Linked DNA regions of Homo sapiens: all the other regions are linked to region 1. Evidence: promoter capture Hi-C in 16 types of primary human blood cells and fetal thymus (Javierre and others, 2016). All regions are on one chromosome and are shown on one strand. Each heading gives the region's core, a stretch centred on a gene start or on the middle of the fragment in contact. The rest is flanking DNA. Distances are from core to core; before and after follow the strand shown. Region 1 holds the start of GGCT (gamma-glutamylcyclotransferase). Region 2 overlaps FKBP14 (FKBP prolyl isomerase 14). Region 3 overlaps PLEKHA8 (pleckstrin homology domain containing A8). Region 4 holds the start of LOC105375216 (a long non-coding RNA gene). Region 5 overlaps MTURN (maturin, neural progenitor differentiation regulator homolog). Region 6 has its middle 37 kb from the start of MTURN. Region 7 overlaps LOC124901607 (a long non-coding RNA gene).

Region 1 (4,341 bases), core at 570-3,069:
TACTAAACTCCAGCCACACTGACTGAAAGATCCAGCTTCCTCTTTCTTCAGGTCCTTTGCAGAAGATGCTGTTCCCTGTTTTGTGTGCTCCCCACCTCTACAATCATTCAGGTCTCAACTTAAAAGTCACATTTTCAGGCAGGGCTTTCCTGAGCATCCTGGTTAGGTCAGGTACCCTGGTCATACGCCCCATTGCACTTTGCATGCCTCCTTTTTAAGATGGACCATATACCTGTAACTGAATAATCCCTTGTTTAATATCTCTTCCCCTTGCCCTGACTGTAAGCATTTGGACTCCCTTCCTACAGTTGGGAAATTCCCTACCTTACGAGTTTGGGAATAGGGAGTATCAGAGCCTGACTCCCATTTTTGAGGCTTCAAAGGCCAGAAGCTGGTTCTCTCAGTTTTGCTTAAAATCACGGCATGGGTACGTGGCCAAAACTTAGCCAATCGGGACATTCTGGGGCTTTCAATTAGAAGCTAGTGCCCAAGACAGCAGGGACTCCAGAGAGGCTGACACATTTGGGTTTCAGGAACTGCAGGGATGTACAGAGGCAGGCAGTGTCCAGGGCAGGGGGTGGTGGACAATACAGCATCCACGTTTACCAAGTTCAGCAGTGGCGTGGAAGAGGCTCCGTGGGCTGGTTCTGTTGTGTGATGCCCACTGTATTACAGTTGCTGTGCCTCCCTTTATGCTTGTCCGTTTTGTCAGCTTTGTACTCCTGCCTTCCTGGTCATTCTGTGAGCTCTCCAATAGCCTTTCAACACATTCTTTTTTTTTTTTTTTTTTTTTTTTTTGCTTAAATCAGCCAGTTTCTGTTGCTTGCAACTAAGAACTCACGATGTTAGCAGAGATCATGTTTGTCTCATTCGACGCTGTCAAAAAGGTTTTGAACATAATCTATTGCACCTCTGTCCTACAGACTGAGAGTTCCTCGAAACAGCCACTTTACTCAATCATGTTTATACCCTTAGTGTTAAGTGCCGGAAGAATATGTACTAAATGAATGAATGGACTGGGCTGAAGAGCAATGATTTACCAACACTGGTTATAGTTCATGCAGCCCCTTGACCTAACTGAACACAGCATTATTACAAATAAGACATGGTCCCAGCTTTCAGGACCTCTTAGATGAGGAGCGAAAGGCAGGTAAACGGATTTTCACAATGCCAGGTGAGAAGTGCTGTAACAAAGGTTATGTACAGAACAGAAGGCAACCAATTCCCAGACACGGGTCAGAGAAGACTCTCCAGAAGTACCAACTGTATGCAATCTGTTAAGTTAGTGGACGAGAGGCCAAATCGGTGCAGACCGAGCAGCCGGTGCAAAGGCCAGGAGGGGGAAAGCTCCAGGCAGCCCGAGAGGGCACCGTGGCCCGGGCAGGGCCGGGCAGTGGGCGCAGCGGAGGAGGTGGACCCGCCCAGGAGGCGGAAGCCGCGTCCTAGTACCCTCATCAAGAAGAACTGCATTCCTGGCCCGATCGGCCACGTGTGCCCCCGAGGAAGCGCCTTCTGGGCATCCCGGCCCCGGCGTGGGTAGCGCGGGAGGGGGCACTCACCTGCAGGCGGGCCACACAGAAGAACGCCGCCGAGGGGTTTCGGAGGTGGATCCTCTCTGTCAGCAGGTTGCTGCCGTAGGCAAAGTACAGAAAACTCTCCTCATCTGGACCCGTGACGTCCTTGCAGCCCGAGTTGGCCATATCCCACTACGCCCCTGCACTGGAGCCTGAAGCAGAGTGTAAGGAACGGCCAGAGAGCGCAACACTGGGGCCCACTACCCCGGCGCAGTGACCGCCGCGCGGCAGCCTCAGGGTTAGGGGACTGGCGGGAAGCGTGGGCCGGTCGAGTCAGGAGCGAGCGCTCTCCTGATTGGCTGCCGGTCCCCACCGACCTGAGTCGCCCCCTTTGATTGGCCATCCCCACGGCCTTCCCTCCGCCTTCCGCCGAGACTCAGAAATAGTCTGTCCTGAAGCAATCCGGCGCTGGCTCCTCATTGGACACGACCTACTGATGTCCCGCCCCTCCTTGCTCAAGGCTTCCTCTGATTGAGGGGTGGACAGGCACTCCTCACAGGCGGGTCGGGTCCCATGGACACTGGCTGAAGGTCGTGGCGCGTGACTGGTTTCTTCGCTCTGGGGTGCTTGTGTGTGGTTCTTTGGTACTTTCTGTGCCTTAGGAAGTTCTGGTCAGATCTGAGGCGAAACAGCGGCCCAGGCGACTCCATCAACGGCTCCCTCATCCGGCAGCTCGCCGGGTCCTGCCTTCCTGGCCTAGAGGAGTCGGGCAGGACGGGTCCGTTCACCCTTTCTGCTGGTTCCGGCACCCCCAGCACTGGTCATCAATCTGACCCCTTTCCACGGACCCGTCGCCTGCTGGAGCGGCCCCTCTGAATGCTTGGGACTCCCTTCCCTGTTACATGGAAGTTACATGCCTGGGCTTAAATCCCGACGCTGCCATTTACTAGCCAAGTAACTTTGGGCACCTCTGGTCTCCGTTTCCTCTTTTTAAAAATCGGGATCATAATATAAGTTAGGGTCACAGTAGAAACCCCTATATTGTGTTTTGGTTACCCCCTCCCACACACACACACATCCTGGGTGTATTTTTTAAAACCTATATTGTTAACTTTTGAATGAACATAAGGGCATAGGAACATTGTCTATCCTTGACACCCAGCTATTAATCTCTAAATACCACCCCCCACTAAAAGGTACCAAGTGATCCTTCGAGAAATGACTGATGCCAGGTCAGGAGCTAGGAGTGAATGAGGACAACTTGGAACATCTTGTGTCAGAAGCTCAGGACGCCTCTCAAGACGAACGAGGTCCTTCTAAAAGGACATGGGAACCAGCCTGAAGTTGCCCACTGGCCAAAATTAGAACAATTTGAGAATCAAAAATAACAATGACTGCAAACTGAAAAATGATTGGAAACTTTAAACATAAAAAAGCCATTCCCCCCAAAGAGTAATCCAAATTAAAAAAAAAACTATAACTTCATTTGCCACACTATTGGTGGTGACTATTACACCAACTTTACTCTGCAAAGTGATAATTTAAGAAAACAAACAGGTATTCCGCCTTTCTAGTAGCAGCTGTATTTCGGGGTAACTGAAATACAGCTGATGACGAGCATCAGTTGATGAGGAAACAGTTCTCTTTACAAAAGTATGCCAACTAAGTCATCCTAAATGAATAATGGAATTTTATAATTGATTCATGCCAGGATCATCAGTGATATCATTTGGTGAAAAGGTGATAGGGAACAGGATATTCACTTGATGCCAAATTACTCCCTGAGGATTACTGCTGGTTACAATTTATTTATTTTATTTTTATTTTTTTGAGACAGAGTCTCACTCCGTCGCCCAGGCTGAAGTGCAGTGGTGTGATGTCGGCTCACTGCAAGCTCCGCCTCCCGGGTTCACACCATTCTCCTGCCTCAGCTTCCTGAGTAGCTGGGACTACAGGCACCCGCCACCATGCCTGGCTAATTTTTTGTATTTTTAGTAGAGACGGGGTTTCACCATGTTGGCCAGGATGGTCTTGATCTCCTGACCTCGTGATCTGCCCGCCTCGGCCTCCCAAAGTGCTGGTGTGTCCGGAATTGTGGGTTCTTGGTTTCACTGACTTAAAGAATGAAGCCGCTGACCCTCGCGGTGAGTGTTACAGTTCTTAATGATGGTGTGTCCGGAGTTCGTTCCTTCAGATGTTCAGATGTGTCTGGAGTTTCTTCCTTCTGGTGGGTTTGTGGTCTCACTGACTTCAGGAGTGAAGCTGCAGACCCTCGCGGTGAGTGTTACGGCTCTTAAAGGCGGTGCATCTGGAGTTGTTCATTCCTTCTGGTGGGTTTGTGGTCTTGCTGACTTCAGGAATGAAGCTGCAGACCTTCATGGTGAGTGTTACAGTTCATAAAGGTGGCTCGTCCAGAGTTGTTCATTCCTCCCATCCGGAGTTGTTTGTTCCTCCCGTCCAGAATTGTTCGTTCCTCCTGTCTGGAGTTGTTCCTTCCTGTGGGTTCATGGTCTCGCTGGCTTCAGGAGTGAAGCTGCAGACCCTCGCGGTTGAGTGTTACGGCTCTTAAAGGCGGTGCATCTGGAGTTGTTCATTCCTTCTGGTGGGTTTGTGGTCTTGCTGACTTCAAGAGTGAAGCTGCAGACCTTCATGGTGAGTGTTACAGTTCATAAAGGTGGCACGTCCAGAGTTGTTCATTCCTCCCATCCGGAGTTGTTCGTTCCTCCCGTCCAGAATTGTTCGTTCCTCCCGTCTGGAGTTGTTCCTTCCTGTGGGTTCATGGTCTCGCTGGCTTCAGGAGTGAAGCTGCAGACCTTCGTGGTGAGTG
Region 2 (4,341 bases), core at 1,316-3,815, 490 kb before region 1:
AGGAGTTCGAGACCAGCCTGACCAACATGGAGAAACCCTGTCTCTACTAAAAAAAAAAAAAAAAAAAAAATTAGCTGGGCGTGGTGGCGCATGCCTGTAATCCCAGCTACTGGGGAGGCTGAAGCAGGAGAATCGCTTGAACCTGGGAGGCGGAGGTTGTGGTCAACCAAGATCGCGCCACTGGACTCCAGCCTGGCAACAAGAGCGAAACTGTGTCTCAACAACAACAAAAGAAAAAAAATAGAAAAGAAATATAAGCAATATCCCACACATCATTAATAAAATAAAAACTACAAATTCATTTCCATAAGGAAAGATCCAAATGGCTAGATTCTTCATCTGAATCAGAAATCATTGTTTCTCGTTATTTTCATGGCAACCCCGCATTTCGTTTAATCAGAGGGTATTTTATAGCACTGATTTACGCAGTAGGCATAAATCAGTGTGTCCACCTGCTACACACGATAAAACCCTAAACCAAAACAACAGTGATAATAACCATCACCCTCCCTCCTCCCCCTCGAAAAACCAAAAACACTTTCTTCAGTGCTAAGAATTAACTATTAACTATCATGCTAAAGGTCAAGACTTAATGCATATTTCAAAAGAATTTAAATCAAACCACAGCTTTTCTTACAAATATACCTATACAGAGCAGATAATCAGAGGCACAAAGTGTCACTGTACCCCTCTCCTTCCACTACCTGTCCATCTTCCTCACTTTTGGTATAAAATTTAGAATAACAGGTAAGAAAATCAGTACAACTGCTGAGGAAATTGGTGTTGAAGAATTTTTCACAAAATCAGTTATCTCCCAAATAAACTTTATTTTGAAAAGAATATCACAATATAGTCATGTAAATTTAAATATGGCACACTGAGCAGTATTGACGCAAATTATATAGTCATGTAACCATGTTTCGGTCAATGTACAATATATATATGATGGTGGCCCCACAGATTATAATGGAGTTGAAAAATTCCTGTCACCTGCTAGGGATGTCTTGATCCTGACCCTGCATAGGCCTAGGCTAGTGTGTTTGTCTTGGTTTTTGACCAAAAAGTTTAAAAATTCAAAATTTAAATAGATAAAAGCTTATATAATAAGGATATAAGGAAAATATTTTTGTACAGCTATGCAATGTGTGTTTTAAGCTACGTTATTACTAGAAGAGTCCAAAAATTGTTTTTAAATAAGTTTCTAAACTAGAAAATTTACAGTAAGCTAAGGTTAGTTTTTTATTATTTCTATAAAAATTATAGAATTTTTTTTTTTGAGACAGAGTCTTGCTCCTCTGTCACCCAGACTAGAGTGCAGTGGTTCGATCTTGGCTCACTGCAACCTCCACCTCCTGGATTCAAGCAATTCTCCTGCCTCAGCCTCTCAATTAGCTGGGACTACACGCATGTGCCACCACACCTGGCTAATTATCGTATTTTTAGTAGAGATGGGGTTTAGCCATGTTGGCCCGGCTGGTCCCAAACTCATGACCTCGAGTGATCCACCCACCTTGGCCTCCCATAATGCTGGGATTATAGGCATAAGGCACCATGCCCAACCAGAAGAAAAACATTTTTTATAAATTTTAGTGTCACCTAAGTGTACGGTGTTTATAAAGTCTACAGTAGTGTACAGTAATGTCCTAGGCCTTTACATTCACTCACCACTGACTCATCCAGAGCAACTTCCAGTTCTGTAAGCTCCGTTAGTAAGTGCCCTATACAGGTATACCATATATATATATATACACACACCATATATATATATACTATATATATATATACCATATATATGGTATATATATATATATAGTATATATATATATATATATTTTTTTTTTTAGATGGGGAGTCACTCTGTCACCCAGGCTGGAGTGCAGTGGTATGATCATGGCTCACTGCAGCCTTGACCTTGCCAGGCTCAGGTGATCCTCCAACCTCAGCTTTTGTACTTTTAGCAGAGACGGGGTTTCGCCATGTTGCCCAGGCTGGTCTTGAGCTTCTGGGCTCAAGCAATCCACCTGCTGAGGCAGCCTCCCAAAGTGCTAGGATTACAGGCGTGAACCACTGCACCTGACCAGATTTTTTACAAAATCTTTTATACCATATTGTTATTGTTGTAGTATCTTTTCTGTGTTTAGATGTTTGAATAAACAGACACTTGCCATTGTGTTACAATTGCCTACATGATTCAGAACAGCAACATGCTGTAGCCTAGGAGCAATAGGCTATATACATGTCCTACATGTGTAGCAGGCTACACTATCTAGGTTTGTGTAAGTACACTCTATGATGTTCCCACAACGATGAAATAACCTAATTAGACATTTCTCAGAGTGCATCTCCATCATTAAGTGAGGTATGACTGTACATGTGAAGTCACAGTTCATGTCTGATTATTCCCACTAATAGAAGAGTACAAAGGTACAGTGAAACCAAAAAAAAGAGCAGATAACTTAAAAACCATAACTTGTGCATATGTTTTCATTTTATACTTGTGTCCAAATGTTTAGATGAGAACTGATACAAATTCACAGGTTTTTAAAAATGCTGCCTGAATAATCAAAACTCTTTTTACTTTTCTTGCCCTACTATAGATAGCATCAGTAATGTTTATACAGAGTAGCACCATCGGACAAACTACTTTCCCTTCTCCCATCATAGAGTATAAGGCTGTCTGTATTATGGCTTAAAACATTAGCAATGACTTAATAGTTTTCAACATACAGCTGATTTTGTTGGAGAAAGGTGTTACAGTATAGTCTTGTTAAGAACTTTATGTTTTACTGAGGAAAATGTCAACATATAATCAGTGAAAGTGGTCTACATATGATGTAATAATTGTTCATAATTCTTTTTAAACAACAAATGGGGGTAAATATGAATGAAAGAAGTAAAACACATCTGGAACCTCGCGTTGTTCAGGGTTTTTGAGGCAATTCAGAGCTAACTGCAAGATTATGCTATGAAACTGAAGCCATTTCTATATCATAGTGAGAATTCTAATGTACCAGAAACAGGCAGAAAGCCATCTTCAGAGAATGAAGACTCAAAGATAAACAACGGCACAGCAAACTGAAGAGAGAATTAGACCCCAGGGAAATTTTCACTTTTCATTAGTAGAGGGCAGTAGAAGACACTGAACTTGGGGACTGAATACTGGTTCTGCAGGTTAGTGCTGACCCTGGGCATAACAGTCAATCTTTTTGAATGACAATTTCCTCGTCTATAAATTAGGTACAGTGAGATCCACCAGCTTGTTTTATGACTCAGAGCCATGAAAAGCGAAGATAATAATGCACTTAATATCATTTTGTACACTATAAAGGGCTACTCTTAGAAAATGAAGATTTGATAACTTTAAAAAAAAGAATTAAAGATAAAAGCCAATTTAAAATAAAATTATATATATTTTTTTCTTTTTTAAAATCCAGGATAGGTATTTATTCAATAGTAGCTGCTGTAGGTCTGCTTCTTTTTTTTTTTTTGAGATGGAGTCTTGCTCTGTCACCCAGGCTGGAGTGCAGTGGCACAATCTTGGCTCACTGCAACCTCCGCCTCCCGGGTTCAAGCAAATCTCCTGTCTCAGCCTCCCGAGTAGCTGGGACTACAGGTGTGCACCACCACGCCTGGCTAATTTTTGTATTTTTAGTAGAGACAAGGTTTCACCATGTTGGCCAGGCTGGTCTTGAACTCCTGATCTCAAGTGATCCACCCTCCTTGGCCCCCAAAGTGCTGGGATTACAGGCATGAGCCACCACACCCAGCTAACTTCAGTTTTTGATGAGACAGAAATGGGAAAATGTAGACTGGTTTACTACTTTATCTTATGATACAATGTTATTGTAGTATAATATACTATAGACTACCCATTAAAGAACCAGGAAGGATATTCCGCTAGCCTTAAGAAGTAAATATTGAATATAAATATAACTTTCTACCTCATCTATAACATATTGATACATTTTATTACAAAGAAACTCACACATAAATGATTTGTCCTATTTATCATAATAGGCCACCAATCACTAGGAGCCAAGCTTCATCAGCTTAAGTCCTAGGTAGCATGTCTCAATGCATACATATTTATATGTTATTAACCGTGTTTCTTTTCTTTTTTTCGAGACAGAGTGTCCAGGCTGGAGGTGATCTCGGCTTACCGCAACCTCCGCCTCCGGGTTCAAGTGATTCTGCCGCCTCAGCCTTCCTGGGTAGCTGGGATTACAGGCACGCATCACCACGCCCGGCTACTTTTGTATTTTTAGTAGAGATAGGGTTTCTCCGTGTTGGTCAGGCTGGTCTCGAACTCCCAACCTCAGGTGATCCGCCCGCCTCAGCCTC
Region 3 (4,341 bases), core at 815-3,314, 470 kb before region 1:
GGCTACAAAGACTGAGATTTTGGGTGACTTGAAAGGCACGGTGCTCTTGATGTCAGCGGGAGGAAGGCGCAGACGCCCCGCCGTGGGGTTCTCTGGGAATCTCTTGAATTTTGGCGAAGGAACCGTACTCCCTTGGCTCGCAGCTAGGTTGGAAGGTTTCAAAAGAATGCCAGCAGTAACCTGGAATTCCACAGCGGAAAGATCCTTTATCAAAGTCCTCAGTGCAAACACTTTCCCTTTGTCACCTTCAGAGTCATCTGCGTGCACACCAGGGTGTCAAGAGTCCCAACTCCACAGTTTCAAAGCTCTGCACAAGGTTTTTTATTTTCTCGTTGAGCATTTCCTTTTGTTTTACAGACTCAGAAATTACCGTTAAATGAATGCAAATATTTGCAACTTTCTTGCCGTGCCTTACAGATTGGCTTTAAAATAGTCCCCGCCCTTTTTTTCTAGTTTGTGGAGGTAAAAGCTTCATATCTTGAGAAGGTTGTAACTGTTCTACAGCTGTGAAAATTATTCAGAACGATCATTTTTGTCATGTGTGCAACTAGTATTTAATACAAGCCTACTATATGCTGGAAACTGTGCTAGCCACTTTTTTGGAAGTAAACTTTTTATCACAGAAAATGAATTAGGTCTTTAAAATTTTAAAGGCAGTGTGTTTGAAAGCAGAAATGTTCCCAGTATCCCTTAGAGTGGGTGAGAGACGTTTTCTTTCTTTTGTGGGATAGTTTTTAAAAGGTTGTAGTATGGTAATGCGCCGGGTGTTTTAAGAATGGGTGTGTGTGGGAGGATCAGTTGGCATACATAGTAACTTCGAGGAGGTCACACAGCACAGCCAAAGGTGCCCCTATTGGGCGTACCCAGAATCTCTTCCCTTTGCTTAGTGTAATTAGCAGTGAGTTCACCTGTTTATTTTTTTTCTGTAATCATTAATAGAGACTAAATGAGAAGAGGTTTTTCTTGTTTGCGTCAAGGACCTTCAGTGATGTCTGCAATTAGATTAGATGAGAATAACTCAAAGCTAGGCTTTGGTTTGGTGGATGACAGAGGCTGATCAACACTGCTAACCTAAGGGGAGGAGGCTCGACCTGGCAGTTTTCCTTCTGAGGTCTCTCTAAGCTCTCAGATGCATATACTTGAGTAAAATTTAGTTCCTGATCCTTCACTCCTTTCCATTACACACACTTTTTTTCATTCATCTTCAACATTCTTCTTTTTTTCCCATTCTTCCCCATCCCCAACTTTTTTTGTTGTTTTGTGGGGTTTTTTCCCCCTCTTTTCCTTCTCCTTTCTATATAGAAAGTTTAGTCTCTTGATACAGTAACTATTTCCTGGTAGTGAAATGCTTTTGCTGTTGTTGTTGCTGACTGTCCTTGTGTATCCTTCAATAAAGCAGAACTCTCTAGAAGGATCTTTTGGAATCTTTGTTATTTGATTCCTATCTGTTCTGTTGGAAAAGAGTCTACTTTTTTCTTCCCAAAGTAAGAGAAGTTAATGCTGTGAGTGGTGCTAGGGTGGAAACCCTGAAGAAGAGGGCACTGGAGCCATTGCCAGAGACAGCTGTCTCTACGTGATGCTGCTTGTTCCCTTAGCCCACGTGCCCCGTCCTTGTAGGCATACTGTTCATAGAAGCCCATCACACCACTGGGTATTTTCCAGATATACATAGAATGATGGTTCGGCATATTCTCTCCTTTTAGGAGATAAATTTACTTGGGAAAGAAGTGGTAATAGCCTAGGAGGATCACATGCATTCTTGTTTCCTCCACCCTCCACTTTTCTACTTGTTCTTCGGAAGTGAGCATGTTGTGTTAGTGACAAGTTACTTTTTCTTTTTCTGAAGCTTGTTTTAAAAAGTAACTTTTTTTTTCTTGTAGGTTTGCACATACTAACTTTAAAATACATACAATCCCAATCCAAGTTTTTGTTCATTCTGAATTTTTCTCCAAAGGTAGTACGTAACCCATGCCTCTGTATGGTTTGTGTATTTGTCATGCTGACAGCTTGATATGGGATGCCTTGTGTCAAATTTGAGTGAAGTTAGGAAATCAGTTTATCACTTGGTCTTTTGAATCCTTAGGGGATGTTGTTAATTTCATTTACCATCTACTGTGCTAGGCACAGGGGAAGCAATGTTGAACAAAGCCCATGCCCTTCTTGAGCCTACAGTCTGGTGGGGGAAGAAAGATATTTATTGGTTAAGTGGTTAGAACCATGTTTCATTGTGTGTGATTGATTGGGGAGGAGGGAGGGCAGAGAGGCTAGTACGGGTTGTTAGAGAAAGCTTCTTTGAGGAAAAATTTAAGCAGAGTCTGAAGGATAAATCAAGCTGTTAATAGTTCGCTGGAGAGGCCAAGGCAGAGGTGTAGTTAGAGGAAATAAAGAAGAACTTTTCAGGCACAGGGAATGCCAGTGTCAAGGCCCCAAAGCAGAATGGAGACGTGCGAGTTTGAGGAAAGGAAAGAGGACCCATCTGGCTGAGAGCTGAGGAGAGTGAGGCTCCAACAAAGATGCAGGGGTGTGCGGGAGGCTAGATATTTCAGGGCCTCATAGGCTGGTTTAAACACTGTGATGTGATTGTGTGTGTGCATGTGGGTACATGCATGCATGCGTCTGTGAGAGAGAAATGATGAGATTGTTTAAAAGCTTACTCTGGCTTTAGCGTAGCGTAGAACATTTTCTGGTTACATCTTTATATCTCTCCTGCTGCATTTATTGTACTTCACTAAATACTATGTATTATTATTTTGTGAGCTTCTTTTGCCTCTTGAATTTTAAATCGATAGGTATTAATTACTGAAAGTTAGAATTCATCAAGCCCTGATAATAGCGTCTGAGGTTTATGTGAGTGTATTTCTAGAAGAGAAAAGAAGTCTCTTCCCTTAAATGCTAAGCGTATTCAGGTACTCTATCCTCCTTCAATGAAAAATACAAAAAAAAAAAAGTTTACATGTATTTTCGTTTACAGTCTGGTTTCATCCTGCCTTTTGGACATTCCGGGATTTAGTGCCAGTACCTTTCTTTAGATGTTAGAAGATTAAACTTGGGATGAAGAGAGTAAATTAAAAACATGTTACAGATTCCCACATTGTGTGAGACATACTTCTAAAGAAGCACTGTGTTTGTTATTTGTGTCTTTCAAGACCTAAAATTTAGTCAAGGAGTATTATACATGTAGGGCTACACATTAATACTCTAGAACGCTGGTTCAGGAGTCAGAGAGACCTGAAGCCTGGCAAACAGCCCTATTACTGCCAACTGCAGGGTCACTTTAGCATCCTGAGCCTTAGTATCTTCCTCCATTTAAAATAATGGGATTTACTAGTTTATAATTGTAAGAACTGTTAAAAATTTATTAGTACTTACAATGTGCCAAGCACTTTTCTAAACATTTTACATGGATTAACTCAGTCTTTGCAGCAATTTCAAAAAACAGTTGCCTTTATTATGCCCATTTTCCAGATGAAGACACTGAGATATAGAGACGTGGGTTTGCTGAAGGTCACACAGCCACTTATTAAGTGGCTTCAGAGTCAGTGCTCCATTAGACAATACTTTTAAAGGTCCTTCTTGCTTGATCATTATGTAATTCTAGCTGATTCATAATGTACCTATATTTAAAGTATGTTTGACCTAGAATAGCAGACTATTTCGGGGGTGGGAAGTGGGGAGGAATTCAGAAGTGAAGAAAGCTTTGACTGCCCAATGTTGTGCATATGTTTTGCCACGAGGAAATTTTCTAACCTGTGCTTTCTACTTTGTAGTTTTAGGTCCTTTTCCTGCCCACTCAGCTGATAGGAGGGCTGCTGTTGTGAACTCCAGCCAGCCGAAGGCTGCTTGTGCCTCTCCAGCAGGTTAAAGCTCAAGCACATTGCATTACTGCATTCTGAAAATAACAAAAGCCTGCATCATACTGGCCAGATGGTTTTCATTAAGGATGTGCTATAATTTTGTTTCCCCTCAGGTGGAGGAAGGTGACTCTTGCCCTATATACTATATATACTAGTGCTGTGTAAACAGTACCAGGAAGACATCTGGAGTATGAGGATTCTTGGTTTCACAACCACTGGTCAACCCTTTTTGTTGTTGTTAACATTTTAACATCTTTATGGAGATAATTCATAAACCATAAAATTCATCCATTTAAAATGTACAAGTCAGTGATTTTAGTATATATAAAAAGTGTAACTATTACCATGATCAATTTTAGAACATTTTCATTATCCCAGAAAGAAACCCAGTACCCATTAGCAGTCACTCCTACACCTACACCTGCCCTTCACTGTTGGCAACCACTAATCTGTCTGCACAGATTTGCCTCTTCTAGGCAGTTTATAT
Region 4 (4,341 bases), core at 1,092-3,591, 370 kb before region 1:
AAAAACTAAGTTTGGAAGATTCAGAAACAAAATTCAGAATGAATTTTGTAGGAAGGCTGAAGGAAATCCTTTTCCAGAGCTTTACTGGGCAGTTGGGGTAAATCACAATGACTCATTTATATAGATCTTCAACTTTTCGCTGATCTTCCAACTTGATTTTCTTTCAGACTCTAGTTGCAGTGACACATAAACTATGGCGCAGGCTTAACTCATGTCTGCCCTCTACTTATCCTCCCCGCCCCACTGCTGGGCTCACTGTTCTGGAGCACAGTGCAGGGAGAAGACAGCTCTCATCCCTCCTGTGTTGCTCTCCTGGGAGTTACTTCTCCAGATCCTATGGTCTTTTCACCTCTCCCATCACAACTGTGACAAATCAAACACCTCTCTCCTGACCACCGTCTCCTGGAACCTGGGGTCTACAGTCCCTCTTGATACAATGAGACGACCTTGCGTTCAGGTGAAGGGTGAATGTGGAACCAGCTACGCTTCCCTCTCTGCCTACCTCCTCCTACTGCATAACCACAAGGCTATGTGGATGGAGCAGATTTATCAAAAACTAGGGCTAATTTAACGGACTTACAATATAGGAGTGAATCAAAGGTCAAATTATATGTTAACATCAAACTTACACTAGAATAAAAGCCATGGAGAACTTCAAAACAGAGATGGGCAGAAGAGTCAGCATTAGCAGGACAGTCTAGGGTGGCCTTTGCATTCCATACTGAGCTCCTGATGTCCTAGCCAGTGGGGTTTGAATATGTCTCCTCTTCTTGCCAACACACATCTCCCAAAGGCAAATGGTGATTTTCAGAGACAGCAAAGTCCAGATTTCTATAAATGAACAGAAACGTTCCTTAAATACAATGAAGACTGTACAACTCTGCCTACTGGTGGGGATAAGTTTTTTTGTCTGTTTGTTTTGTTTTTTGAGATAGGGTTTCCCTCTGTCACCTAGGCTGGAGGGCAGTGGTGTGATCATGGCTCACTGCAGCCTCGACTTCGAGGGCTCAAGGGATTCTCCCACCTCAGCCTCCCAAGTAGCTGGGACTACAGGCACATGCCACCATGCCCAGCTAATTTTTGTATTTTTAGTAGAGACAGGTTTTCACCATGTTGCCCAGGCTGGTCTCAAACTCCTGGGCTCGGTGATCCACCCACCTTGGCCTCCCAAAGTGGTGGGATTACAGGTGTGAGCCACCACGCCTGGCTGGGGAGAAGTTTTAATTTTCCTTCTACTTCCAAACCATGGCCAAAGGCTATGGGAACACAAGAAAGGGGGTATGGGTAGCCCTGGTGTTTCCTCACCTACTGGCTGCACAAAACACCTGGCTAGAGTTCTGAAATGACCACTGCCCTGTGCATGAGGCCTAAATACACCCCTACAACCTGGGATGCCTCACAGGACTCTCCCCAAACAGGAGGGAGGCAGGGCAAAGGTTTATGATCTTCTTAGCTAAGCAACTGGTGGCTTTACCAGTTGTTCTAAGGAAACAAAATTTCAAGCAACTTCTGCAGATGAACTTTCCAGGATGAATTTCAGCTGCTTTATGTGCATACCCTTTCCACTAGTTAGTAAAAATGACCAAAACACGACTGTTGCAAGACTTTTCTCTCTAAATCTGTGGTTCTCAAGTAGGGGTAATTTTGCACTCAGGGGACATTTGGCAATGTCTGGAGAAATTTTTGCTTGTCACAGTGGAGAGAGGGGAGGGTAGAGGGAGATGCTACAGGCATCCAGTGGGTGGAGGCCAGGGAATGTGGCTAAAAATCCTGCAATGTGCAGGACAGCCTCCAACAACAAAGAATTTTTGGCTTCAAATATCAATAGTGCTGCTGCTGAGAAACCCTGCTCTAAAGACTTGGAAAAAAAAATGAGATTTAGGTTCATCTGTGACCAATATTACCAGTCATATCACTCCTGAATTTCACTTTAAAAATTCATTAGCTGATCTTCTTACACATCATCCCTAAGAAGTAGATTAAGAGTAATAATGGCATTTACTGAGTTCTTACTATGTGCTAGGTTCTGGGATAAGGACTTTATATACTTTATCTCACTGTTGTCCCTGTTTTCAGAAAAGAAAACTGAGCTCCGAGCAATGAAGGAAGTTGCAGATGCACATAAAACTTAAAATGGCAGAGGGAGGAATCAATGCAGACATGGAGTTCTGAAGCTTTTGCTGTTGCTCTCAGTGCATTTCTAAGGAAACCCAACGGTATCCATTTCATTGACCAATTGCTTTGTACCCAAAATTTTATTTTTCATAAGAGTTTTTCATTTTCTGACAAAAACTATTTGTTAAATAAACATAACTTCATAATTCTGATCACATCACTTGGAGCAAATTTGACTGATACATTTTAAAACACATGGATTAAAAAAAAAACTCCTTCTTTCCCGAAAAAGGAAAAAAGGAATGTATTTTTCATATTTTCATCTCCAATTTAAGGAATTCATTTTTGGAACACATATTATGCTTTAAATGGTGGTGCCAGGTAAAACTGCAAGGAAGCTTGTGCTATCTGGAGACACCCATACTTTTTTTTTTTAAGGACCATTTTGTAACTTTACAACAGCATATTGCATTTTTATATTCATGTGCCTGTCTCCTTCATTGTCCTGTGTATTAGTTTTCTACTGCTGCATGAAGAATTTAAACAGACCTAACAGCTTAAAACAACACCCATTTAATAGCCCACAGTTCTGAAAGTCGGAAGTCCCAGCACAGCCATGGCATCACTGGGTTCTCGCTCAGGTTCTGCGAAGGCTGCAATCATGGTAATAGTCAGGCTCAGTTCTTGTCTGGAAAAGACAACAAGTTTGAGAAAAAAATCTGCTTTTCAAGCTCATTCGGGTTGTTGGCAGAATTCAGTTCCTTGCAACATTGGCCTAGGCAAATAATTTATGACTAAAACCCCAAAGGAAGTGCAACAAAAACAAGAATAGACAAATGGGCCTTAATTAAACTAAAAAGCTTCTGCACAGTAAAAGAAACAATCAACAGAGTAAATAGACAACCTACAGAATGAGAGAAAATATTTGCAAACTACGCATCTGACAAAGGACTAATATCCAGAATCTACAAGGAACTCAAACAACTCAACAAGAAAAAAAAAAAACCCATTAAAAAGTGGGCAAAGGACATGAACAGATATTTCTCAAAAAAGACATACAAGTGGCCAACGAACATATGAAAAAATGCTCAACATCCACTAATTATCAGAGAAATGCACATTAAAACCACAATGAGATACAATCTCACACCAGTCAAAATGGCTATGATTAAAAAGTCAAAAAACAGCAGATGTTGGTGAGGGTGCAGAGAAAAGGAAACATATATACGTGTTGGTGGGAATGTAAATTCGTGCACAGTGCCTGGTTCAGAAGACACACTTTACAGAAAAAAGCTGGCTGAATGTTTATAACGTGTCTGTGTTTGTAGTGTTCAAGTCCTGAGGGCGAGGACCCTAGTGCATTTTCTGCAATCCAGTAATGCCTGTCCAGTATATGGCAGCCAGTGAGCACTCAACAGGTGCAATCGTTGGGCCACACACTCTTGTTTTAAAATGTGCTTTATCCTCTTGACCTTTTTAGGTTATGCAATGTGAATTCAAGCTGAATAATACTGAAGCCAGTCTTATGAGGCTCATTTCTAAGAAATATTCAGCTTTACGTAACGCAAATAAAAAATCACACACGCCCTTTGCAAGTGAACATTCATATTAGTGTCTGATAAATGCATTAAGAAGACACATTCCCTTAAATCAATCGGAGAACAGAACTTTGGTTTCTGCAAAAAGAAAAGCTCCCTTTTCCTTAGATTTTCTCAGCTCCTCCACTGCTAGCCCCAGACAAGGTCCAAGTTATCTGCAGTTCTATGGCCTCCCTTGCATTTAAATCGCATTTGGGCAAACGCTTCCTGGGCTTTCTAACTCCACAGAAACGCTAACCAGGTATTGGGCGCTCGCACCGCTTCCAGGTAACCCGCGGAGCTGCGGATTCCAGGCTCGCGCTGTGACGTCACCGGGCTCGCAAGCCGCGGCGCGGTCTCAGGCTCCGGTGATTGGCTGGGGCCCATGACGTCACGGCCCGGGGCGGCACCGCGATGGCCAGGGCCCCGGGATGCTCCGGGTTTGTTTAAAAATAAAGGGGGGGCGGGAGCGCCCAGGAAAATCCGGGCGCCCGCGGGGGTGCCGGCCGCTCCTCCCGCCGCCCCGCGTCCCGGCCCGGCCGCGCCAACCCCCACGGCGGCCCGCAAGGGGGCGGGGGGAGGCGGGGCGGAGGAGGAGCCGCGGGCGCGGCGCCGCGCTGTCCCCGGCCGCCGCCCGCCCCACTCCGCA
Region 5 (4,341 bases), core at 1,100-3,599, 350 kb before region 1:
GAATGGGGTAAAAAGTGTCAGGGGTCCTGGAATTTTTGAGTAGGGAACCAGGGAAGGCTTTGCTGAGAAGGTAACATTTGAGGAAAAACTTAGACTACAGAGTGGGCCATGAGAAAATCTAGGGGAATAGCATTTTCAGTAGAGAGAGCAGCAGGTATGAAGGCCTCGGGGTTGGACAACACCTGTGTCCAGGGAGCAGGAGCGGCCAGTGTGGCTGAAGGAATTAGAGAGAGGTGAGCTGGAGGAATTCCAGGAGTCACAGAAGGACATGGGCTCTTACTCTGGAGTGATGGGGAGCCCCCCAAGGGGTTAGGCAGAAGAGGGATGTCACCTGACTTCACATCTTGAAAGCCTCCCTCTGATGACTGTGTTGAGAACAGGCTGTGTTAGGGGAGGGACAGAGAGGCCATTGAGGCCATTGCTGTCATCCAGGTGAGAGATAGTGGTGGCCTGGACTGGGACGGTCACGGCAGAGGCGGGGTGAGGGGTTGGATTCTGGAGATACCTTGAGAGTAGACCCAGCTGGACTTGCTGGTGGATCAGAAGTGGGATGTGGGAAAAAGGGAGAGAAGGCTGACCCTGAGTTTCTTGCCCAAGCAGTGAAGGGAATGGCCTAGTCATTTACTGAGATGGGGAAGGCTGCGGGGGCGGGTGGTGGGGAGTTTGGGGTTGGTAATGTCAGAGCTCAGTTTTGGACATGTCAGTGTTTTAAATGCCTGTTAGACATCGAAGAAGGGAGATCACATTAGGCAAAATTAAAAAGAAATGGATTCCTGTAAATTTTAACCAGAAGAATACCCGTTAGCAACTGAGGTTCGCTTTGCAGCAGGTTTCCTCACAGGGGCTCACTCATTGACCTGCCGCCAGCTGGTCTCTGTGGGTGTCGTCTGTGGTGGCAGGCAGCCTCCCCTCCCTGCAGAACTGGCTCACCTGGGAAGGGGAGCTCCAGCCGGGAGTCACTGTGCTGTTTTTCCTTACCGAGGCTCTGGTTGTATTTTGGCAACCAGGCTAGCCACGTTAAATGAGGAAACAAATGCGGTCCAAAAGAAATCCGGATGTGCAGCTGAAAGCAGTTGGATTGGTTGAGGAAGTTCTTTCAGGTGGCGCTGAGATGTGTCACGTGGGCCCACAGCTTTGGTGTGCTGTTGCTGGGCTTCCAGGTTTCCTTTCTGAAGTGGAACTTTACCTTGTGGGCAGGGATGTGGCTCCCCAGGTGAGGAGGCCTTGACGTGGCACAGCATGCCCTTTGGTGAGGAGGTTTGTGGGCTGGGCCGCCCTCTGGCAGGGCCGGTTTACCCCTGAGGGCAAGGCTGGTGGGAGGCACCTTCCCGGACTGGTAAAGATGAAGTGCTGAAGGCCTCAAGTTTCTCCCAGTCAGGATGCGCCCCAGACTGAATGAGAGGGAGCGTCACAAACCCGAATAAAGGACCACAGAGATCCCTGGAGAAACTTTGACACTCTCCACCTCCACCAAATAGAGCACTGCTTCCCAATGGCACCATTTATCTGTTTGTTTTACGTAAGGGAGGTTTGTTACAGATAAGACATAGGTAGGGGTTTTGTTGCTGTCATCACAGTTGAACGTATTTGTTGAAACGCTTACCCAAATGCTACAGGTTATCAAGTGGGTAAAACCAGCACATCATTTCCCTGAAAATACATGGGAATCTGATCAATCCATGCAGCTGCTTTTTTGTTTATCGTGGGCCAGCCCCAGGAGGAGTGTTTTTACCTTCATCTTAGAGCAGTCCCCTGCTCTGCCTACTGCACTCTACTGGTTCTTGGGAGAGCTATTTCTGTGAGCATGTTCTGCAGGGGGTTGCTTGTCATCTCTTAACCCAATTATGAGGGAACAGGTACTACAGTCATGAAGAACCCAAGGTCTGTTGTCAGGCTACCCGGATTTAAGTCTCAGTTCTACCACTTGCTGGCTGTGTGACCTTAGACAAGTTACTTAACCTCTCTGTTTCTCAGTTCATTTGTAAAATTAGAAAATTAATGATGATAGTTCCCTTAGGGTTGCAGTGAAGATTAATGGAGTTTTTGTTGGGTACTCAGTGCAGTGCGTTATCCACGGTAGGCACTAAGTCAATGTTAGTATGATGTGGATAGGATGAGGATACTAGACAAAATACTGTGGAGAAGTGAGCAGGTTACCGTTGGGGGGAACCTTAGATTATTGGTGGAGAGAGAAAACAATTTGCTAAGTGATTTCAACATGAAAAGGCATTAGAAGGGTAAGTCAAAAGTTTATCAACATTGGTTTTGGTAAAATTACAAGCATTCACTGAGTACCTGATCCACACGACTCACTGTGCTAGAGGCTAGGACTCCATAGAGGACCAGTGGATGCACCTGTCCTCCCAGAGGGGCACGTGGCCAAAGCGCTCAGGGTTATGGATGATTTTTTATTTTCTTCTTTTCCACATTTTCTAAGTTTTCTATGATCACATTATCAGAAAATATATTTTTTAATGAAACTGTGGCTTCCAGCGTATTCGAAGGGCTAGGAGTATCAGTGTGAGCAGGCTCATTGAGGAACAAAGCCAGGCAGTGGCTTCATGAGGAGGTGGGACTGAAGAATAGCCGGACCTAGACGTGCTCAGAGCAGGGGCAGGGCTGGCCCAGGAGGAAGTCCAGGAAGCGTCCATCTTGGCTGCCTCAGCTCCGTTTCCTTAGAAATGGCTCCATGTGGTGGAAGGTAGATCGGCTCTGCCCTGTTTTGCTCCCATGCTGTGTGGCCTCTAACAGGTACACTTGGCCTCAGTGTCCCCAGCTTTAAAATGGGGGCAATACTGATTTAGCTGTCTTGTGGATTCATGGGGAACTTTGAAGTCAGACTGAGAACCCAAAGGATTGTCAAAACCCAGACACTCTGCTAAATTTAGTCTCAGTTTCTGGCTCCTAACAGGTATTAGGAAATGTTTATTGGATGGGTAAATGACTGTGGATGCAGCCGGCCACCTTCCCTCGAGTGACCCACATTCTACTCCACTCCAGTGACCTCCTACTTGCTAATGTTGATTGCTCAGAGAGGTATGATTTTTACCTATTTTTTCTTGCTACTGGCATGTCGTATCCAAATGGCACATGTATGCACATGACAATGCCAGGCAGGCTGTTGTTGGCATCCACGAGCAGGTACTGCTACTTGTAGTGGTTTCAGAAACCCCCATCAATCACTTTGGTAAGTGTGAGTTGGATAATCGTCAGAACCTTGCATTTTTCTTAAGTGACCCTCCATTGACAGTTGCTGGTCATACACGATTGAGCTGGAGAATGAAACAATGGTTACGGACCTAAATAATGGTGATCATGCCGTTCAGTTTTCCCCACCATCTTTTCATGTTTTATATTTAGTGTCAACTGACAGACTTACTGCTGGGTAGAAAACAGTTTACAAGAGAAGAAATAGCCTACTATTTCCAATTTAGCAGTGAAACTAGACTTTATCTTTGCCCTTTCGAATTCTCTCAAAGTGTTATGGGCTTAACAAGGAACTATTGCTTCCTCGAGTGTGTTCTTCTCCTTACCAACGCTGTGGACATTAGGGTCCTGAGTCCCCTATTGCTCTTGCAGTTTTTTGTGCTGTTTGGTTGTTGTTGCTTCCATGGCCCGGCCTGGAGTTGGGTCCTGTGGTCCTTGTAGATTCTCACTCAGTTGGCCCAAGTCCTCTCCTGGGCTTGCTGTGTGACTCTGCGTTTCTTCTCTCAAGAAAGAGACATTTCTGCCAGAAAAATCCCCCTAATTCTGGTTCACTGGCATAAGCAAGATTGATATTTTCAGTTTGCCACAAGTGGCTGGAGAGCTGCGGCTTAAATCCCACAGGAAAATCCTGTGTCCCAGAAAAAGTCCAATTCTTGCCTCTACTCATGGAGTCTGGTCAAGAGCCTGGAAAAGAGAAAGAATCCACCTGTCAGAAGCTGCCTGGGTGGATCAGGGAAAGTCTGATGAGAAAAGATTATGCACACATGTGGGTTTCATAATAAACATGGAATATTGACAGTTTATCTTTTTTTTCTTTTTTCCTTTTTTTTTTTCTCATTCATGTTATGAACATTCAAACCATTCTCTTTTTTAGAGAGTATGATGGCCTCAAAAGGTAAGAGAGTGCCTCCTCCTGCCCATTGTGCTGCATCCATCTTGCCACCCTTTTTTCCTTAGGGTCAAGAAGACTGACTGACAGACCAGGACCCCACCAGGGGTTTCCCCATACCGCCAGCATCATAATCATGAAGATATATGGTGCCACATTTCCCAAATGCTTTAGAGTCCTACCACCCCTGGCTCTTGGACTAACAGTATTCCCATCACCTGGGAGTGTGTTAGAGATGCAGAATT
Region 6 (4,341 bases), core at 1,337-3,836, 330 kb before region 1:
CACCAGTGTTTACCCTGAGGCTGCCAGCATGAGGCAGTGAGGACCTGGGTGTGTGGTCCAGGGTGCTGTTGCCAGTGACCACAGAGAGTGCCACACCAATGAGCAATGAGTGATGCCCCAGTGACAGCTCTCTCCATTTTTATTCATCTTTCATTCCAGCCACTCACCGAAGGGGCATGAGTCCAAACAGTTGGACATTGCTCTGAGTAACAGAGCCAGAATCTCCTTTTCATCCAGCCTTGCCATTGTCACCCATGAACCCAGTTTGTGAGCTTGACATGTTTTTCTTAGGATGAGCTCTGCCCACTGAGGCTCCTTGGGTCCTCCTGTAAGGAAGCTCCTGGCAGATCCAACCTCCTGACATACCAATATGTCCAGAAACAACATTAGCTGGGTCTTGCCATCCCCCTGAAATAGGGTGGGTAATTCCTTTGGGTGGCCCTAAGGTGCTGAGTGGAGGGGATTTAGCCAGGGCAGAGGAATGCTAAAGTCCCGAAAGTCTCCCTTCCCACACAGAAGTACTTTGGTGAGGAGGCTGTGGGTGAGGTGACTCTCTACACCTATGAAAGCTCTTTTGCTTAGGGTTGACCATTAAAAAGTGATTTCTTGACCCTCAGGGTAACAAAAGCCTGGCCCACCAATCAAGCCAGCAAGTTTCAAACTTTAAGGCTCCTAAGAATCACCTGGTGGTGGGGCCAGAGCGGAGGGTTGGTGCTGTGAAACATGCAGATTCTTGGGCTGCGCTCCAGAATCTGGAGACAGAATCTGGACACAGGAAGCTGCAAGTTTACAAATACTCCAGGTTTACAGTTTACAAATATGTCAGGCCGTCCTCATGTAGGTGGTTCATGGACCACACTTTAAGAAACTCTGGGTTGAGCCGGCCTCCAGGCTCACCATGTCATTCACTATGTCTACAGGGAGCCAAGATTCATCACAACGTGACTGGGTGCCAGGAGCTGGGCAAAATTCCTTCCTGATCCTAACACATCTCATTCTATAAAAATAAAATCCTTGTACAGATGCCACAGTGATCTCCATTAACATCTCAAAACTTGGGGAAAAAAAAGTCTCTCTTCTAAGCTCACATGGTGACAGAGCTGGGGGCAGCTAGTTGTGCCTGACTCCAAAGCATGGTCTCTCATCATAGGATGTCACATTGCTTCTGTGACATTTAGGGGATATGAATGAGCAGAGGCCAAGTTGTATTTGGCTGCATGCTTGATTGCGTAGAAAAATGACGACACTACCCTTGGTACATCTATTGGCCCCAACAGGAAGGAGATGAAAGTATTGCAAAGGGAACAGTGAGCCTAGACTGAATCAGAGGACTCCCAGAAATTCGCTGCACTCTCATGATATAATTATGCCATCAGGTTGGCCAGTTGAGGATTACACTTCAGAAGAAGGCAGATGTCATTATCTAAATAGGCCATTCTGTACTCATTTCTTTGTTTGCTTGTTTCTTGTCAGTCCATCCACTGGATCATAAACCTAATGAAGGCAAAGCTCTGTTTGTCCTGTTCTTCACAGAATCCCCAGTGTTTAGCACAGTCCTGGCCTTCTAGAAACCTTTGTCGAATGAATGAATGCATGGGTCATGGGGAGATGAAAGGCAGTGTTACTCTTTCTCTGGGGGGACATGGGAAGGCTGCTTCACTCTCAGATCAGTGCACTCTCATTCATGTGTTGAGTGGCAGGTGCTGGAAGTCAGAGCATCTGAAATGCAAGCTCCTGTGCCCCTTCCCTGGACCTCAGGTCTCCAACATTGGGGCATGTGGTTGGTAAGTCTCTGAGATTCTCAGGTATATCAGGGAATAGGAACTGGAGGGGGTGGATGGTACAGGTCTCTGTGCCCCCACCCCATGATCCCTAGATGACCATCCAGAAAGTGTCATCAGCCAATTGGAAAGTCATGAAGCAGACACAGCCCTAGACTATTCTAGTGGGAAGGCAAGAACATGTGCTGTGTCCCCGCCTGCTTTCCAACCTAAGGTAGAGGCTGTCCCAGGCACAAGAGCACTTTCAGGTCACTGGTGTAGCTTTTCCAAGGCTGCCTGCCTCTGCACCATCTCTGGGAAGATTCCGAAACTGCCCCATTCCAGTGGGGTGGCCTAGGGGCAGAAAAATGCTCCATGTGCCTCCCAGGCAGAGGTGGGAGCTTGGGGTGGCATTTCTTTAATGAAGTCACCTAGGTTTTCACATCTAGAACTGTGGACATCCAGGCTCCTGCTCACTGCTCTGAGTCACCGGAAGCCTGGAATGATGAGGCTTTTTTTCAAACACTATCTAAGAATCTTTGATGAATCCTCATCATCTGCCATCAGGCACCACGATTTCATGATCCCCAAAGGAGTAGGGCAGGTTCCTGAAGATCTCCCGGGGTCGGTCCACTGGCGCTGGGCCACTGACTCCATGGAAGTGGTTGGTGCAGCTGGCCTTCGAGACTCTGTGCCTTCAGAACCTCATATAGTCTGGCTGTGTCCCCCACCCAAAATTTCATCTTGAATTGTAATTCCCATAATCCCCATAATCCTTAAGTGCCAAGGGCGAGACCAGGGGGAGGTAATTGGATCATGGGGGCGGCCCCCCTGTGCAGTTCTCATGATAAGTGAGTCTCATGAGATCTGATGGTTTTATAAGCATCTGGCATTTCCACTGCTGGCACTCACTCTGTCCTGCTGCCCTGTGAAGAAGGTGCCTGCCTTTCCTTTGCCTTCTGCCATGGTTGTTAAGTTTCCTGAGGCCTCCCCAGTAAGTGGAACTGTGAGCCAATTAAATCTCTTTCCTTCATACATTACCCAGTCTCAGGTATTTATTCATAGCAGTGAGAACTGACTAATACAAAACCCTATTTGTTTTTCGCTTCCATCTGCTTTCCTTTTCCAGTTACTTCATTCTAATTGGTGTTCCTTTCCTACTTCTGGGTTCGTACCTCCCTTCTCATTACTGCTGTGACACATTCTCCCTCTACTGACTGGCAGGCCTGCCCTTCTCCCTGGTGACTGTTCAGGCAGGCCTTAGTGACCACGTGTGTTCACCCTAACCATAGACTTGACCCTTCTGCTTCAAACCCCATTGGAAATTGGCATTTCCTTGCTATTCTGAAAGATGGGAATGGGAATTTGGATTTGAGAGAACTGTAATAGAGCTCTGACACCTTCCTAGAGTCTGGGTGGCAGACTGGGTTCTGACTGGGACCAGATTCCACTTGTCCTTCCTCCTGGCAGGGTGTGTGTTAACTTCAGGGAGCCCAAGTCATTGTAACTCGTGTGCACAGACAACTAGAATCTGTGCCCAAGATGGGTCAGTGAGTCTCGAGTGATGATTCAAATTCATTTTCTTGCCAGGCAAACAAAATCTCTGACTTGCCTGGACTCCCTGTGAAGCTAGCTGCAGCTGCCAGTGCTGGTCTGTGGTGGCCCCAGGCTATGGGATTTGAACAGCTGCCTGCTAACAGCACCACCTCCTCTCCCGGATTTATCTTGCACCATTGCGCCCACAGCTGGGCCTGTGCAGAATGTACAGCATGATGCTGATGCTGTTCAGGCTGCCAGCCCATTGGAAGCACAGCAAATGACTTCTATTTATAGAGAAGGCATTCCTGGGCCACACACAGCACTCTTGGCCTGCTGAGAAGTCGGCCAAGTCCCTGACAGACACCAAGGGGCAAGACTGCAAGCCTCCTCTGCCAGAGAAGGCATTGTTCTGTCGCACACAATGGTAGAGCGGCCCTGGCATGATGTCAGATGAGTTGACAGTAGCAGCAGCTGCCTGTACGTTCCCTCTCCTCGTTTACAGCTGAGCTCTGCCAAACCCAGGGAGCAGTCCGGAGTTTTAGGTTTGGATTTTGGAAAATGAATTGCACCAAGAGGCCAGGACCGTCTTGCTTCAGTTGGCTTAGTAAGGAAATGGCCACAAGCCATAGGTGGTAATTTAGCAGTGGCTGCCTGAGTCGTTAGGGGAATGTAACCACAAAAGGCAGTAGAACGGGCAGCCAGGGCCATTGCAGGGCACAGTCACAGTGGCTGGCCAGGAGGTCTGATGGGGAGGCCTTTCCTTCCTGAAGACCCAGCCTCCCCTGGAATCCTCCCATTTCCCGAGGCCTAGCTGGTGGCACCCAAAACCCACGAGAGAGCTGCAACAGAGAGCTGGGCTGTCTCAGGTAAATGCAGGAAGGGCTACCCCTCTGTGGGTGAGTGATACTAGCTTCTTTAGGCAGCCTTTAGGTTCCCATTCATTAGTTAACTCTGGCTATACCTGAGAAGACAGAGTAACCAGCCTGGTGGTTGAGTGTACACTGTAGAGAAATACAGAGCCAGCCTTAGTCCCAGCTCCACC
Region 7 (4,341 bases), core at 577-3,076, 300 kb before region 1:
CCAAATCATTTTTTTTCTATTCAAGTCTAATGAAGATCTATGTGAAAAATGGAGTTTTCTCTCTTACTCAAAATGAACAAAAGGTCTGTTAATAATGTTAGGATGTGACCTCACTGAGGTTAAAAATATTTGCTTATGTAAAAAATGGCAGGTAAACCATTCAGGACTAATGTAAGCAACAAGAAATATAAGAGAGAAGAGGAAATGAAAATGCAGTGGCAACAACAGACTTGGATTAACACCAGTATTTTCAAAAGAGCCCAAACAATTTCAGATTCAATAGAAACCACTTTGCCAAGGACTCCGATGCATTTCATCTATCAGCAGGCTTGCTGCCGTTTCCTAAAGAACGCCCCTGGGATCTGCCGTTTCCCCTTGGTTCCTATGCCAAAGCCAGCCCTGTTCTCTCTTCCTCATACTGTAGCCATCATTGTGTGGCCACAAAGCTGCCAGGTCGCTCTGTATGCTGCCACTGTTATAAACCACCCTCATGCACTCATGCATTTTTTTCTCCATCTGTAATGAAGGACATTACAGATCATTTATGAGATGACCATTGCTGAGCCTAAACAAGGAAACTCAGACTGGTCCTGGGTTGTTTGGTGACCTGCTGAGGCCCACAGGCCCACAGATATTTGATTTCTTTTTTGGAATCTTTTCTTTTTGGAATCTTTTGCTCTGACTGAGAGGGAGACGTGATGCCTAGAGTTGGGGAGTTCTAGGTCTCATTGGAAGGGATGTGGGGGGCTGTGCCCTTCTCTGGTTCCATGGACAGTTTTCTGAGCTCTTCTAAGAAAGAAGGGTGAACAACAGAAGCTGGGGAAGTTGCTTTTATAAAATGACCCATGATGCTGGGGTATGACTATATGATGGAAGGTGGAGGTGAGATGCCCAGAGAATGCTGCTTGGTCTTCCCCTCCCCGCCCCCAGGTGACAGTGTGTTGCAGACGTGTTTCCTACTGCTACAGAAAACTCAGCCTCTGCCTGGTCACATGTGGCATGGCAGCTTTGAGAACAGAAGCCTGTGATGAAGCAACTACAGGTTGGCCAGGAACCTGGTATAGATTAATGAGTGGGTAATCATATACTCTATCTGGGAGTATATGAGGGAGAATGAACTCAAAACATTGAAAAGAATGAGCCAATTGGGAATTTGAGACAGAGACTGCTAGGGCCCACCAATATCTGGGTGCTCTGCTCCTTCTGTGGGCATAGCTAGACAACATTTCCCCACCCCCTTGCATCTAGATGGGACCATGCAATTAGTCCTGGCCAGTGAAATGTGGCTGGAAGTGTTGCACACCACTTCCAGGCCTGCCTTCTTAAATCTTCTGTGAGATCATACATAGTCTCTCTTTATTTGTCTGCTGGCTAGATGCAGAGGATCTAGGAGAGAACTCTGAAGTCCTAGAGGGTAGCTGAGCCACAAGATGGGAGGAACCTGGATCCCTCAGTGACTGTGTGGACCAGTCTCTCATACCATACTACATCCCCATCTTTACTGCATTGTGATACAGAGGAAAAAATTAAAACTTTGTTATGTGAAACCACTGAGATTTGGAGCTTGCTTGTTACAGTTGAAGGAAACCAAAACATTTCTCCTCAAAACACTGAGGATTGCTAAGTTAAAAACACTAAAAATGCAGGGGAACACTCTGCCTCAGCCTCTATTTGCTTGACAGCAGGACATAAATCCTTCCTTACTGGACACTTGCTTATTGGCCCAGAGAAGGCAGCAGGAGGCACCAGAGGAATCTGGAAATAGATTCTACTATTTTCCACTTTCTCCCGCCTTTTCAAAGACGGGAATGTCTCTCTCTTTTGTCTTGACACTATGTACTATTTATGGCTCTTTGTTAAAACATTATTTAAGCAAAGCCTCTAAGCCACTGCCTCGAGAGAGAAATACTTTTGAGGCCTCTCCCACATGACAGGTACAGCACTTGTTAATAAACTTCTGCTTCTTTTTCTTTTATTATTGTGACTTTTGTTTTTAGGAGAGTGTCTCAACTAAGAACATAAAAATGCAAAGAAATAAATTATGTTTTCTCCCTTCCATAGTCGTTACCATACTGACTAATACAGAACTGAAGCTGAAAAGCCATGATGTAGAGAGAGGGGCCAAGATTATCTATTTCCTTCTTGAAAGTTTTTCCCTGAACTTTCCAGAAGTACAAATAAGAGTAAAAACATATCCCTGGACACAGGAGCTGGCGACCTAACTGGCTTGTTTTGAGTTTAAATTTCTTCTTAATGCCCTGAATGGAAATATTTGACTTCCTCTCTGTAATATATTCATGTTTGCTTCAATATAAAAATACTATTTATAAAGATTTAGCCCTCAAGTTAAATGGACTTTTAACCTGTGCCTTGGCATCCGCATGTAATAGTCACATTTAAGTTTGGCTCCAAAGATTACTTCCCTCCCTCTTTCCTGGTCATTTGGTAAAAAGCAAAGCGACTTCATGAAACCACCTATGTAGGGGTTCAGTAAGTTAGCACTCTTTAGATTTCAGATGCCTGCTTTCATTCTTTAAAAACAAAAATAAAAACAACTTTGATCCATTTTTTAATACTGATGTTATAATATTAAAATGTTTAATAACTTGGTTTGACAAAAAACAGCATATTTTTTAAAAAGTCTCGAGATTTGTTAAACAATACAAAATTACAAGGCCTGGTGTGGTGGCTCATGCCTGTAATCCCAGCATTTTGGGAGGCTGAGGTGGGCAGATCACCTGAGGTCAGGAGTTCAAGACCAGCCTGGCCAACATGGTGAAACCCCATCTCTACTAAAAATACAAAAATTAGCTGGGTGTGGTGGCAGGTGCCTGTAATCTCAGCTACTTGGGAAGCTGAGGTAGGAGAATCACTTGAACCTGGGAGGCAGAGGTTGCAGTGAGCTGAGACCGCACCATTACACTCCAGCCTGGCAACAAGAGCGAAACTCTGCCTCAAAAAAAAAAAAAAAAGAATATGAAATTACAGCTAGATAGGAGGCATGAGTGCTAGCGTTCTATAGCACTGTAGGATGACAAAGTTAACAATAATATATCACATAATTTTAAATAGCTAGAAAGAGGATAATGAATGTTCCCAACACAAAGAAATTAGAAATGTTTGAGATGATGGATATGCTAATTACTTTGATCTGATCACCTATACCTTATATGTATTGCAACATCACTATGTACCTTATAAATATGTATAATTATTATATGTCAATCAAAAATAACAAAATACATTGTCTGGACTTTTTATTGAAGCTATGTCCTTCTTTGGGGTGGGGCAGCCAAGGTGTGAGATGGCGAATGCCTTTTTGCTACCTTGTATTTACATCTCAGTGAATTTTCCTCGTGTTCTAACTTGGGTCAGACTGCCTGGGAGGGTGAGACTTTAGGCCAGAATCACAGCCTGGACCCTGGAGAGTCCTCTAAGCCAACACTTGACCTTCAAACAGGAATCCATCAAGACTACCTTAGATCAGGGAGGAGACACCTGAGCCAACTCTTCGCCAAACTGGAAACTCCCCATTCTCTTTATGTTTTCTCTCTCTCTCTCTCTTTTTTTGAGACAGGGTCTTGCTCTGTCACCCAGGCTGGAGTGAAGTGGTGTGATCTCGGCTCACTGCAGCCTTTGCCTCTCAGGTTCAAGCAATTCTTGTGCTTCAGCCTCCCTAGTGGCTGGGATTACAGGCGCCAGCCACCAACCCTGGCTAATTTTTGTATTTTTAGTAGAGACAGGGTTTCACCCTGTCATGTTGGTCAGGCTGGTCTTGAACTCTTGACCTCAAGTGATTTGCCCGCCTCAGCCTCTCAAAGTGCTGGGATTACAGGCGTGGCCTGTATGCCCGGCCCCTTTATGTTTTCACAGTGTCCTTCTTGGCTACTCCTTAATGATTTAGCTGGATGAATCTCTGAGAAATTCACTGTCCTCGGCAGCACAAGCTTGCTGAGCTGCTGCCATCAGCCAAGGGGTGAGTGTGAGAAAGGAGTGGCCCTTAGACCCACTTCTCCACGTCTCATCTTAATTTTATCATACAGTCTTTACCATAGACTTAACAACCATTATGTTAATATAATACCTTGAGAAAAGTTGTTGGAACCCAAAATAATTGAAAGCAGTGACCTGAAGATATATTGGTATGCCCACATTCATAGCAGCATGATTCAGAACAGTCAAAAGGTGGAAGAAGCCCAAGTGTCCATCGACGGATGAATGAATGAACAAAATGTGGCATACTCATACGATGGGATATTATTATTCAGCCTTAAAAGGGCAGGAAACTCTGACACATGCTACAACATGGATAAACTTTGAAGACATTATATTAAGTAAAAT

What was found. The method cuts DNA at HindIII sites, captures the fragments that hold promoters and counts their contacts. A CHiCAGO score of 5 or more calls a contact.
Region 2: a fragment that was not itself captured here is called in contact with the fragment with the promoter of GGCT in region 1 in 1 of 17 cell types (neutrophils); the score reaches 7.4 in neutrophils.
Region 3: a contact is called between a fragment that was not itself captured here and the fragment with the promoter of GGCT in region 1, in 6 of 17 cell types (total CD4 T cells, naive CD4 T cells, total B cells and 3 more). The highest score is 7.3, in total CD4 T cells.
Region 4: a contact is called between a fragment that was not itself captured here and the fragment with the promoter of GGCT in region 1, in 9 of 17 cell types (total B cells, non-activated CD4 T cells, total CD8 T cells and 6 more). The highest score is 12.5, in total B cells.
Region 5: a contact is called between a fragment that was not itself captured here and the fragment with the promoter of GGCT in region 1, in 11 of 17 cell types (naive B cells, neutrophils, total B cells and 8 more). The highest score is 12.9, in naive B cells.
Region 6: a contact is called between a fragment that was not itself captured here and the fragment with the promoter of GGCT in region 1, in 2 of 17 cell types (neutrophils and total B cells). The highest score is 7.1, in neutrophils.
Region 7: a contact is called between a fragment that was not itself captured here and the fragment with the promoter of GGCT in region 1, in 1 of 17 cell types (total CD4 T cells). The highest score is 5.6, in total CD4 T cells.

Annotation. Positions count from the first base shown.
Region 1 is chr7:30,503,010-30,507,350 of GRCh38, forward strand. It overlaps GGCT (gamma-glutamylcyclotransferase), which reads right to left and starts at 1,820. Exons shown (of 4, transcript NM_024051.4): 1 at 1,560-1,820. The coding sequence starts at 1,700. RefSeq lists enhancers at 1,028-1,907, 1,556-1,765, 1,908-2,786, 2,206-2,295 and a silencer at 1,226-1,405. The HindIII fragment of the contact is 6,754 bases long and covers 1-4,341 here.
Region 2 is chr7:30,009,780-30,014,120 of GRCh38, forward strand. It overlaps FKBP14 (FKBP prolyl isomerase 14), which reads right to left. Exons shown (of 4, transcript NM_017946.4): 4 at 808-4,341. All of the region lies in intron 2 of FKBP14-AS1 (FKBP14 antisense RNA 1), which reads left to right. Among named protein-coding and RNA genes, the nearest start is that of FKBP14, 15 kb to the right of the region's middle. The HindIII fragment of the contact is 2,945 bases long and covers 1,094-4,038 here.
Region 3 is chr7:30,029,037-30,033,377 of GRCh38, forward strand. All of the region lies in intron 1 of PLEKHA8 (pleckstrin homology domain containing A8), which reads left to right. Among named protein-coding and RNA genes, the nearest start is that of PLEKHA8, 2.8 kb to the left of the region's middle. RefSeq lists an enhancer at 1-97. The HindIII fragment of the contact is 441 bases long and covers 1,845-2,285 here.
Region 4 is chr7:30,130,653-30,134,993 of GRCh38, forward strand. It overlaps LOC105375216 (a long non-coding RNA gene), which reads right to left and starts at 4,062. Exons shown (of 3, transcript XR_927146.3): 1 at 3,952-4,062; 2 at 2,665-2,803; 3 at 1-831. MTURN (maturin, neural progenitor differentiation regulator homolog) reads left to right here and starts at 4,334. Exons shown (of 3, transcript NM_152793.3): 1 at 4,334-4,341. RefSeq lists silencers at 4,232-4,341, 4,252-4,341. The HindIII fragment of the contact is 339 bases long and covers 2,173-2,511 here.
Region 5 is chr7:30,148,126-30,152,466 of GRCh38, forward strand. All of the region lies in intron 2 of MTURN (maturin, neural progenitor differentiation regulator homolog), which reads left to right. Among named protein-coding and RNA genes, the nearest start is that of MTURN, 15 kb to the left of the region's middle. RefSeq lists an enhancer at 1,164-1,663. The HindIII fragment of the contact is 4,934 bases long and covers 1-4,341 here.
Region 6 is chr7:30,169,730-30,174,070 of GRCh38, forward strand. No RefSeq gene overlaps it. Among named protein-coding and RNA genes, the nearest start is that of MTURN, 37 kb to the left of the region's middle. RefSeq lists an enhancer at 1-179. The HindIII fragment of the contact is 7,030 bases long and covers 1-4,341 here.
Region 7 is chr7:30,201,158-30,205,498 of GRCh38, forward strand. LOC124901607 (a long non-coding RNA gene) reads left to right here. Exons shown (of 3, transcript XR_007060274.1): 1 at 1-4,341. Among named protein-coding and RNA genes, the nearest start is that of MTURN, 68 kb to the left of the region's middle. The HindIII fragment of the contact is 4,238 bases long and covers 1-3,945 here.